Linked DNA regions of Homo sapiens: region 2 is linked to region 1. The links are contacts of gene promoters, found by promoter capture Hi-C in human tissues and cell types (Jung and others, 2019). All regions are on one chromosome and are shown on one strand. Each heading gives the region's core, a stretch centred on a gene start or on the middle of the fragment in contact. The rest is flanking DNA. Distances are from core to core; before and after follow the strand shown.

Evidence for each region. Contacts are between HindIII fragments. The study calls those that stand out against the background at their distance.
Region 2: a fragment that was not itself captured here is called in contact with the fragment with the promoter of TMEM65 in region 1 in 1 of the 25 tissues and cell types used here (hippocampus).

Annotation. Positions count from the first base shown.
Region 1 is chr8:124,370,892-124,375,803 of GRCh38, reverse strand. TMEM65 (transmembrane protein 65) reads left to right here and starts at 3,103. Exons shown (of 7, transcript NM_194291.3): 1 at 3,103-3,950. The coding sequence starts at 3,647. RefSeq lists enhancers at 2,541-2,730, 2,942-3,236 and silencers at 2,961-3,190, 3,311-3,580, 3,711-3,840, 3,891-4,020, 4,031-4,080. The HindIII fragment of the contact is 5,376 bases long and covers 1,291-4,912 here.
Region 2 is chr8:123,246,003-123,250,876 of GRCh38, reverse strand. All of the region lies in intron 2 of ZHX1-C8orf76 (ZHX1-C8orf76 readthrough), which reads left to right. ZHX1 (zinc fingers and homeoboxes 1) reads left to right here. Exons shown (of 4, transcript NM_007222.5): 4 at 557-2,421. Among named protein-coding and RNA genes, the nearest start is that of C8orf76, 7.1 kb to the right of the region's middle. The HindIII fragment of the contact is 3,854 bases long and covers 1-3,300 here.

The DNA.
Region 1 (4,912 bases), core at 1,854-4,353:
CATCAGACTTCTTTATGCAGCAGCTGGATTCCAAAAGGTAAATGTCTTCGAGGCAATTTTTCCATGTGGAAAATTACCTTGATGCAATGGCAGCCTCCATGTATACACCTACAGGTCACGAAATAGATAGGCTTATAGGCCAAATTAAGAAGCTTAAATCACATTATCTGGTGGTTCTAAAACGTATCCTCAAAGGTTTTGGCATTACTCCTATTAAGATGTGGGGTTTATATCCCTTTCCCTTGAATAGGGGCTGGCCCTAGGGGTTGGCTTATAGCCAGTAGAATACAGTGGAAGTGATACTGTGTGACTTCCAAGGATAGGTCAGAAAACGCCACAAGCCTGCTTCTTTTTAGACATTCACTCTGGGGAAAGCCAGCTGTCTGGTGAGAAGATCACCATGCTGGAGTGGCTGTGTGAAAGTGCTCTGGTTCTCAGCCCCATTTGAGCTACCAGTCAGCCATGTCAGTGAGCCATCTTAGCTATTCAGCCCAGCTGAACTTTCAAATGACAGCAGTTGTGTTGAAATCTGATTGATACTACATAAACGACTCCAATAAAATAACTGTCCAAGTAAGTTCTTCCCCAATTTCTGAGCCTCAAAATTAAGAGCAAAATAAATTGGCTAATTAAACTACTAAGTTTTGGCATAATGTGTCTACCCAAAGAGCAGCAATAATAACCAGAAGAGTTTACCAACCAACATAAAACAGAGTGAGAAGCAAGGGGAAAGAGATAGGGTAGATTAATAAGCTTAGGATAGGCTGAAGGACCATAGCACCTAAATTCTGTTTTATGCAATGTTCTCATGTCTTATCCCTCTCCACCATCCAGTCTTCTCAGCACATAGTGTGGCTACAAGGACCAGACTGGAGAGTAAGTAAGGTGACTCAACAGACTGAAGGGGCCTGGGCTCAACATATGTCTGTTCTGTTACAGAGCTGAGGGGCAAGTGTGTCTGGTTATAATGGTAGCTGGCATTAGTTGGCTTTGTAGCTGGGGGTTTATCTGCTTTTCTTGGGAAGAGATTACATGAGGCCATAATAGCGTTACAATGGGTGTTACCAGTAGGTATGCAATTTAGGGATGACATGGCTGTAAATCTGAAGATAGTATGATCTGTACCTTATTAATACTTAAAAGTCCACTTTGTCTTTCTGCCTCTATCTAAAGCAGCATTTTCATTTGTTCCATCCTTTTTATCTATGTTCAACCCATATCCATTCATTCTATGTGTAACCTTTCTCATAAGTGACTTGCTTCTACATTTTAGTTTCTCTTGTTTTATAATAGAATTAAATATTCTATAGTAATATAGCAAAAGCATTACAGCAAACCCCAATGAGCAAACATGTATCATATCACGTTTATGATGTCCTCCTATTTATTGACCAAAACAAGTCAAATAGCCAAGCCCACAGTCAATGTAGAGGTGGACCACACAACGGAGCGGATAATAGAAGGTGTAGTTCATTGGGGATCACTACTATAACAATCTAATACTAACACATAGTTAGGAGACGGTTGATCCAGGGATCGAACTTTCCACAGTCTGTCTCTGGAGGCTACACACTAAACTACTATTCTGGAGGTGGTTGGGAATGGGTTCTTACTGAAGAACTTTTTTCAAACCTCACTTCCCAGGTCTGGGGCCTGTGATCCACCCCAGTGAATCAGAATATCTTGGGGGTAGGAAATTGTGGGGGGGATGGGGTGGTACTCCCATGAGCCTGAGACTGAAATAGCTCTGCAGAGGATTCCAGTGCACACTAGGGAATGAAGGGGGTTTCAAAGACAAGGAAGATATACTTTATGCACTCAAAAAGCTTTCATTTCCACAGAGAGCATTCTTAATTGTTGTTATTACATCACAGAGGCATCACCTTGGAATTTAAAAAAGAAGCGATTCCTTTCAATGTTTAAGAGACATCAGTGTTTCTCAAGCTTTCGTGTGTGTTATTACTGGAGGGCTTGTTAAAACCCACATGACTGGGTCCAATGTCTACGTTCTGATTCAGGAGGTGTGAAGTGGGGTCCACTATTTCTCACGTCTAAAAAGCTCTGGGACACACTTTGAGAACCAGAGTTAGAGAAGTAGGAGGCTTTAGTGGTAACAATCCTCCATTATTCAGTTTAATATTCTACTTACATGTAGCACATTTACTACCTACAAGTTTCCGGGCTGAGTGCAGCACTGTTTATGATAAGGATGGGATTTAGATCTTGATTACGCTCCAGCAGATTTATTAAGTGGATTTATTCTCTAAGGGTGCCTAAGCGTCATTAGACAGGTTCAGATAAAGCAGAGATCTCCTCCCTTAGAAGAGATTAGGGACAGCTTAATGAAGTAGGAGACCTTTCACCTGGGCCTTGAAAGATGCCTAGGACCTGGATCAGGGGAAATCGTGGACAATCAAATTATTCTTCCCGCTTTAGCACAGAGACAAAAAAATCACAAGCAACCACTAGGAAAGGTCTATGACATTCTTGCCTCTGCCTCTAGCATTAACAATTTGCATGCCAGCTGCTGGAATCTGAACGGGGAGGACTGTTCTCGTGTCAAGGGCTCAGTCTCAGACCCTCCTTGGGCAGGGGTGGAACTGGCTTCGCTTTCTCTTTGGGGCGCCCAGAGCGACTGCATTAGAGCCGGCCTGCTCGGCCGAAGCGGCGGTGGGCGCTGACTTGGCGAAGGGCGCAGCTGGGGCGCTTCGTTCCGGAGCAGAGCGCCGTGATCCCGTCGGGGCTGGGGTGGCAGCGCAGCTCTCCGCCTGTCCAGAGCGGGGCCGCACGCCGGGGCACCTTTCAGAACAAGCTCCAGATGTGGCCCCAGGTTGGGGGCCGGGTGGCAGCTGTACTACCCTGGCGGGCGAGGGGTCCAGAGCTCGTTTTCCCTATTCCGATCTGTAGGTTTAACGCCAGCACAGGGTGGCGCACCCTACCTCCTTCCACCTTCACGCACCAGCGCGGGAGGGGACGCGTGTGCACGCTCCTCCCCTAGGAGGGAGGGCGGCCCGAGAGCCTGCAGACTGCGCCTGCGCAGCCTCGCTCACACACCTCCCCGCCCCCCCGCACCTCCTTCCCCTTTCGCCCCGCCCCGTTCCCACTTCTGCTGCCGCTAGGGGTAGCGGCGGCGGCGGCGGCTGCGGCTCGGGAGCGCGGCTGCTTTGAGGGCTCGGGAACCTTACAGAGTGGGGACGTGGGGAGGCTAGAGGGTGAGAAAGCTGGCGGGAGAGTAGGGCGGCGCTGGAGGAGGGCGGTGCGTGGCTGACTCATCCTCTGGAAGATCAGACTGACAGAGACACACACTAGCCCGCCCCGCCCGCCCGCGCCGCTCCTCCTCAGCCGGGAGGCGCCCGCCCGCACCGACCGCCCGCCCTCTCCGGGCGCTGTCCGGGCCCGGCCGTCTCAGAGAAAGTTTTTCCCATCGGAGGGGCGGGAGCCGCCGCGGGCCTTTTGGAAAGGAAGTGGGGACGGAACAGGAGGCGAGAGCCGCGCGGGCCCGCGGAGTGCATGGTGCCCGGCGCCTCGGCTGCCTGGCAGGAGGACCTCGGGGCGGGGTCGAGCTGAGCCCAGCTCCTTCTCGCCTCAGCCGCGCCAGAAACCGCCTTGCCGGACGGCCGCGGGGGTCCCAGCTCCTCAGCTCGCCATGTCCCGGCTGCTGCCGCTGCTGAGGAGCCGGACCGCGCGCAGCCTGAGGCCGGGCCCGGCCGCCGCCGCCGCGCCCCGCCCGCCGTCCTGGTGCTGCTGCGGGCGGGGGCTGCTGGCGCTCGCGCCCCCCGGCGGCTTGCCGGGCGGCCCCAGGCGGCTGGGCACGCACCCCAAGAAGGAGCCCATGGAGGCGCTGAACACGGCGCAGGGCGCGCGCGACTTCATCTACAGCCTGCACTCCACGGAGAGGAGCTGCCTGCTCAAAGAGCTGCACCGCTTCGAGTCTATTGCCATTGCCCAAGGTAAGGGGGGCAGGTGGGGGGCGAGCCCGGGGGCCCCGACGCCCTCCTCTTCTCGCCAGCCCACCGGGAGCCCGCTGCGGCCCTGGATCTTGGACCCCCGCCGCCGCCCCCCTTCCGCCCCCCTCGCCTGTCTGGCCCCACGCCTGGGACGGCTGGGGGCGGGGAGACTTTCCGCCGCCCGAGTTTCCCCCAGGCAGGTAGGACGGGCGCGGGTCGTGCCAGGCAGCCGAGGCCAGCGCTAGCTACTTCCTCCCCAGCCTCCGAATCCGGAGCTTCGGCCTAAAATGCCAGTTAACGCTGTTGGGATTGAGTTTTGATTTGCCCCGTGCCTCCCCTCCCCAGCCCTCCTGTCCCTTAGCCCTTGCTGCTTTCTTGCGAGCGTGCACCCGTGCAGGTGGCATGCTGTGCCTGCTCCGAGAAAGTGCTGCAAACCCGCCTGGCAGGAAGAAACTTTTTGAACGGTTATCAAATGAAGACGTATGGGTGGGTAGCCAAAAGAAGGGGTGTAGCTTCGAAAGTCAGGGATGCTCATAGCTGCTTGTTTCCACACATGTCTGATTGCGTTAATTTCAGCAGCCAAAGGAAACATTTTCTCCAGAAATGGAAAGACAGATTCAAGTTAAACTCCAGTTTTGGTTTTTCCCAGAGGTTGAAAGAATGAAATAAATAAGGAGGTATATTTTTTGGAAATCTGTGGCTCTGTAGTAAAAGTCAGACTGATGCTCAAAAGTAATTGGGAATGATGAAAGCAAAACGATTTTTAAACTAGCATGTTAAAATAGGATATTTCTAAAAGGAGTCCAGAATGGGGTAGGGCAGAATTTGAGTCTAGGTGAAAAAGCTAAAAGTTCAGAAAATAAAAAGGATGAAAGGAGCAAACGACTAAAATGGATGTCTTAAAATATTTCTGCCACTTAAATACAGTTATGTAAACAAAACACATTGCTTCAGTTTGTATTACA
Region 2 (4,874 bases), core at 124-2,623, 1.1 Mb after region 1:
GATAGCATAGAAGCATGCCTTTTTAAATACACAAAAGTCTAAATTTCTGAAACATCAAGTTATCCTTGGCTGAGTAAAATAATTTTTCACTTATAAGAGGATTCACCATAGCCTTCTCTAAATAGTTATTTCTTCATTTAAATATTGTTCAATTTACCAAAAAAGTTACCAAAACCTTCCCAAAATAGTTATTACAGGAAGTGAGGTACATATATATCTTTTGCACCTTGTATAGAAATAGAAAAAAGTACAAGTCTTTAGATTTCATAGTCTGCTTATTACAGATACTGACAATGAAATATATACTCCCTGCTCATACAGTTTGAAATAAATTATTACATAAAGATGATAAATGTTTATAAGCAAATCTAGCATATGAAGAACATATACATAGATGAGTTGCACACAAAGCCTAGTGTATTATGGAAGACATATGTGGCAGGTAATCTCAAGAGAATACAAAAGATGTATTTTCACTTTTATTTCTAAAAGTAGTAAAAATTAAAATATGGTTTTCTTTAAATTTTCAGTTTTTTATGATGTTTTTCTTTTTTAGCTGCCTAAAACGTTGAAGGAGAATCAATTCTTCAACTCAAGATGTCTGATTTACTGTGAATTTGCCCAATCTTTGATGACATTGAAAACGTTTTGGGGCATACACACTCAAAAAGCAGGATCCAATACCCAAAAGAAATGGAACTTAATGTTGTGCCAAAGTTAAACTACTGCAGTTGGTGGAAGTTCTGCAATGTAAATAGAACACTAATTAAAAAACAACTTGTAAAAATGCAATTTAAATTTTAATACAGTACATTTTTCTTCTAATATGATGGAGACATTCTGAATCTTAGACTTTCTGAGGGGGTTTAATGACCACTAGAGCTTGTCCTCATATTCAGTCCAGTTTAATACTGTATGTCTAGTAAGATGGGCTATATATTGCCTCTATTCTTTGAGATGTGATTAAGCTTAGAACTTTGACCAAAAATTTTACAGTAAAAATTGTTAGAAATGGGTAAAAAAAAAAAAAAAAAAAAAACCCTGATTTATTACTATGTCTTATTTATCAGACCCTGCACTAAGATTAAAAGTTGTGCATGGGCTTATACAATTTCAAATGTAAAAACAGCCTATTTATATATGTTGAAACAATAAGATTTTATGGTTTCACTGGCCCTTAATAATTGGATCCTTCATTAAACACATCCATGAATACCACTGTTTCTACTGTTACTTGTTCCATTAGAAGCTGATTTGCTTTTTATTAAACTGCAGGAAATTAATTCTGAAGAAGGAAAAGAAACTGACATGGTAATTTGGATAGGGTGAAGCTTTGAAATAAATACTGCACCAAAAATGTGAAAAAGAATCACGTAGTAAATGTATACTTAGTGTTTTCTTACAATCGTGGAAATCAGAAATGTTTATACAGGTGTCAGATCAGAATTTTTAAGAGTTATCTTTCAGTGAAATTTTATAACAGTTTCAGTGAATAGAGAAAAAATTCTGAACTGATCATAATGAGTTAAAAGTTAGCTTTTCACTTATGAATCATGGGAGTGTTAACTGTTAACTCTTGCCGTATCAGGAGACTGAAAGTTCATACTAATTTACAAACTTTGTAAAGACTGGTGCTGTTCATTCATATTGGGAAGAACCCTTTCTTTTGTGACCATAGGACCATTTTTCAAAATGCGCTTTCTTCGTAGAAGAAATGTTCAGTTTAATTAGCTTTGGATTTTAACATGTTTTTCTGAATGACCAGATGTAGGCTTAGCCAGTTTATTTTCTCTAATTTAATGGATAATAAATATTAAGCTCTTGGTTAAATGTTTTTCAGCCATTGAAAATGTTATGAAAAAGCCTTGAATATGCATGCTGCTTTCATTTTTATAAACTTTTTATTTTTTAACTATAGCTTTATTAGTAATTCCAAAATGCTGCAATGTAGCTGATTTCCTCACTCAGACAGCTGGCTTTGTGGGTGGCTTTTTTCATACTACTGTTAACTTTTTTAAAAAAGAAGCAATGTAAAGACCGTAATGCACTAAGCTTTTTTTTTTTCTTTTACACGTTTAAAAACTTCTTAAAGCACTCTGTAATATAATGATTAAATTGCTCCCTTTTATAAACATTGCTAATGTGGTCTGAGTTTTGTTTGACAATAATTTTAATGTTCTCAAAATTTGAAATGTCAAGTATTAGAAATGAAGCCTTTGAATATAGTTGTTTCCCTTGCAATATGTTAACTCTGTGTAGCTGTATATAACTATTAATTTCCCTCATCTCTTTTATAGGCCTGATAAAACTCTTCTCTGACGTTTGCTAGCTTTTAAATATATTTATTTGACAGAGCAAAAGAACCCTCTTCTGGTTGATTGTGACCTTGAATACAAAATAAAAGTAGTGATTAGTAGTTTACAGTGACCTTTTTTTTTTCATTTTATTAACAAAGTCAATTTTTAAAACATTGTGGTAAAATATATATCACATACTATTTGCCATTATACCAGTTTTTAAGTGTAAATTCAATGGCATTAATTATATTCACAGTGCTGCACCACCTTCACCACTTTTCCAAAAGTTTTTCATCACCCCAGACAGAAACTCGGAACCATTAAGCAATAACTCCCCATTCCTCCCAGCCCCTGGTAACCTCTAATCTACTTTTTGTCTCTATGAATTTGTGTATTCTTGATATTTCAAAGAAGTAGAATCCTAAAATATTTGCCCTTTTGTGTCTGGCTTATTTTAACTTATAATGTTTTCAAGTTCATCCATGTTTTAGCGTATATCAAGACTTTGTTTCTTTTCATGGCTGATTTATGTTTTATTGTGTGTGTGTGTGTGTGTTTGTCTGTACACGTGCACTTCCTCCCACACACATTTTGTTTATCCATGTATCTGTTGATGGAAACTTGTTTTTTTCCCGCCTTTTGGCAATTGTGAATAATGCTGCGGTGAACATTGGTATACAAGGATCTGAGTACCCATTTTCAGTTCTTTTGAGTATATCAAGGAGTAGTATTCCTGAATCATGTGGTATTCTGTGTTTAATTTGTTGAGGAACCACCAAACTCTTCCACAGTGCTAAAATGTTCTCTGAAGCATCTGTACCATTTTACGTTCCACTAGCAATATACAAGCATTCCAGTTTCTCCACATTTTTGCCAACACCTTTCATTTTCAGTTTTAAAAAGTGATTATAAGCCCAGTGCGATGGTCTGTGTCTGTAGTCCCAGCTACCAGGGAGGCTGAGGTGGGAGGATCACTTGAGCCTAGGTATTTGAGGCCAGTGAGAGCAATATAGTGAGACCCCATCTCTAAAAATAAAATAATAAAAATTATAACCATCCTAGTAAGTATGAAGTGGTGTCTCATTGTGGTTTTGATTTGTGTTTCCCTAATGATGAGTGATAATGTCATTAGGAAAATGCAAATCAAAACTACATCTTTTCACATAATTATTTGTATATCTTCCTTTGAATATATTGAAAGTTTGTTCAATCCTTTGCCCAGTTTTTAATTGGGTTGCCTTTTTGTTGCTGAGTTTTAGTTCTTTATATATTCTGGATGTTACAGCTTTATCAGATACAGTTGCTTCTTGACTTAGAATGGGGTTTGTCCTGATAAACCCATTGTAAGTTAAAATTTTTGTAAGTTGAAAATCCATTTAATACCCTGATGAACTCACCATAAACTTGAACTATCATAAACTATTACTATTTTTTGAGACAGAGTCTCTGTTGCCCAGGCTGGAGTGCAGTGGCACCATCTTAGTTCACTGCAACCTCTGCCTCCTTGGTTCAAGCGATTCTCATGCCTCAGCCTCCCAAGTAGCTGGGATTACAGGTGCCCGCCACCATGCCCATCTAATTTTTATATTTTTAGTAGAGACGGGGTTTCACCATGTTGGCCAGATTGGTCTCAAACTCCTGACCTCAGGTGATCCACCCACCTCAGCCTCCCAAAGTGCCAGGATTACAGGCATGAGCCACTGCACCTGGTCACAATCATAAATTATAAATCCATGTGTTTCTCAGTTTACTATGGGGTTAGGTTACCATGGGATTATGTGTTAGTAAATCCATCTTAAGTCCATCATAAGTTGGGGACTGTCTGTATTATGATTTGCAAATAAGTTGATCCTCATTATGGATTCTGTATATGCAAATTTGCCTACACATTAAAATGTATTTGTAACCCCCAAATCAGTATTCATAGTACTTCCTTGGTCATTCCTGCACATGTACAGAATGGCAACAAAAAGATGTTCCCAGCAAAGGTCAACCAAAGAGATGCTTTGCCTTGTTTCAGGTCTCATACTGTAGAGAAGTGTGTGTGTGTGTGTGTGTGTGTGTGTGTGTGTGTGTGTGTCCATAGGAATGAAAAAGCATCCTTTTGTAGTCTATTTAGTGCTGTGTTTTCCATATTTTTCTGCTTTCTGCAGTTTAAAATGGTCCCAAGTGTAGTGCTGAAGTGTTGTCAGTGTTTCTAAATATTAGAAGGCTGTCATGTGCCCTATGGAGAAAATATGCGTTAGATAAGCTTCATTCAGGCATGAGTTACAGTGCTGTTAGTCATGAGTTCAGTGTTAATCAATCAACAGTATTAAATAAGGTGTCTTTAAACAGAAAAATACAAAACATGGTGATGTTTTGATTGATTGATAAATATATTGTGACCAGAGGCTCCCAGGACCCTAACCCTAGGAGCATGTGTTCAGGATTTGCTAATTCAGTGTGACTTTATAGAATGTAATAACTGTGAATAATGAGAATTAGCTGTATTTTTCCCATTCTGTAGGCTGTATTTTCATTTTCTTGATAATGTCATTGATGCACAAAAAAGTTTTTAAGTTTTCCGAAGCCCAG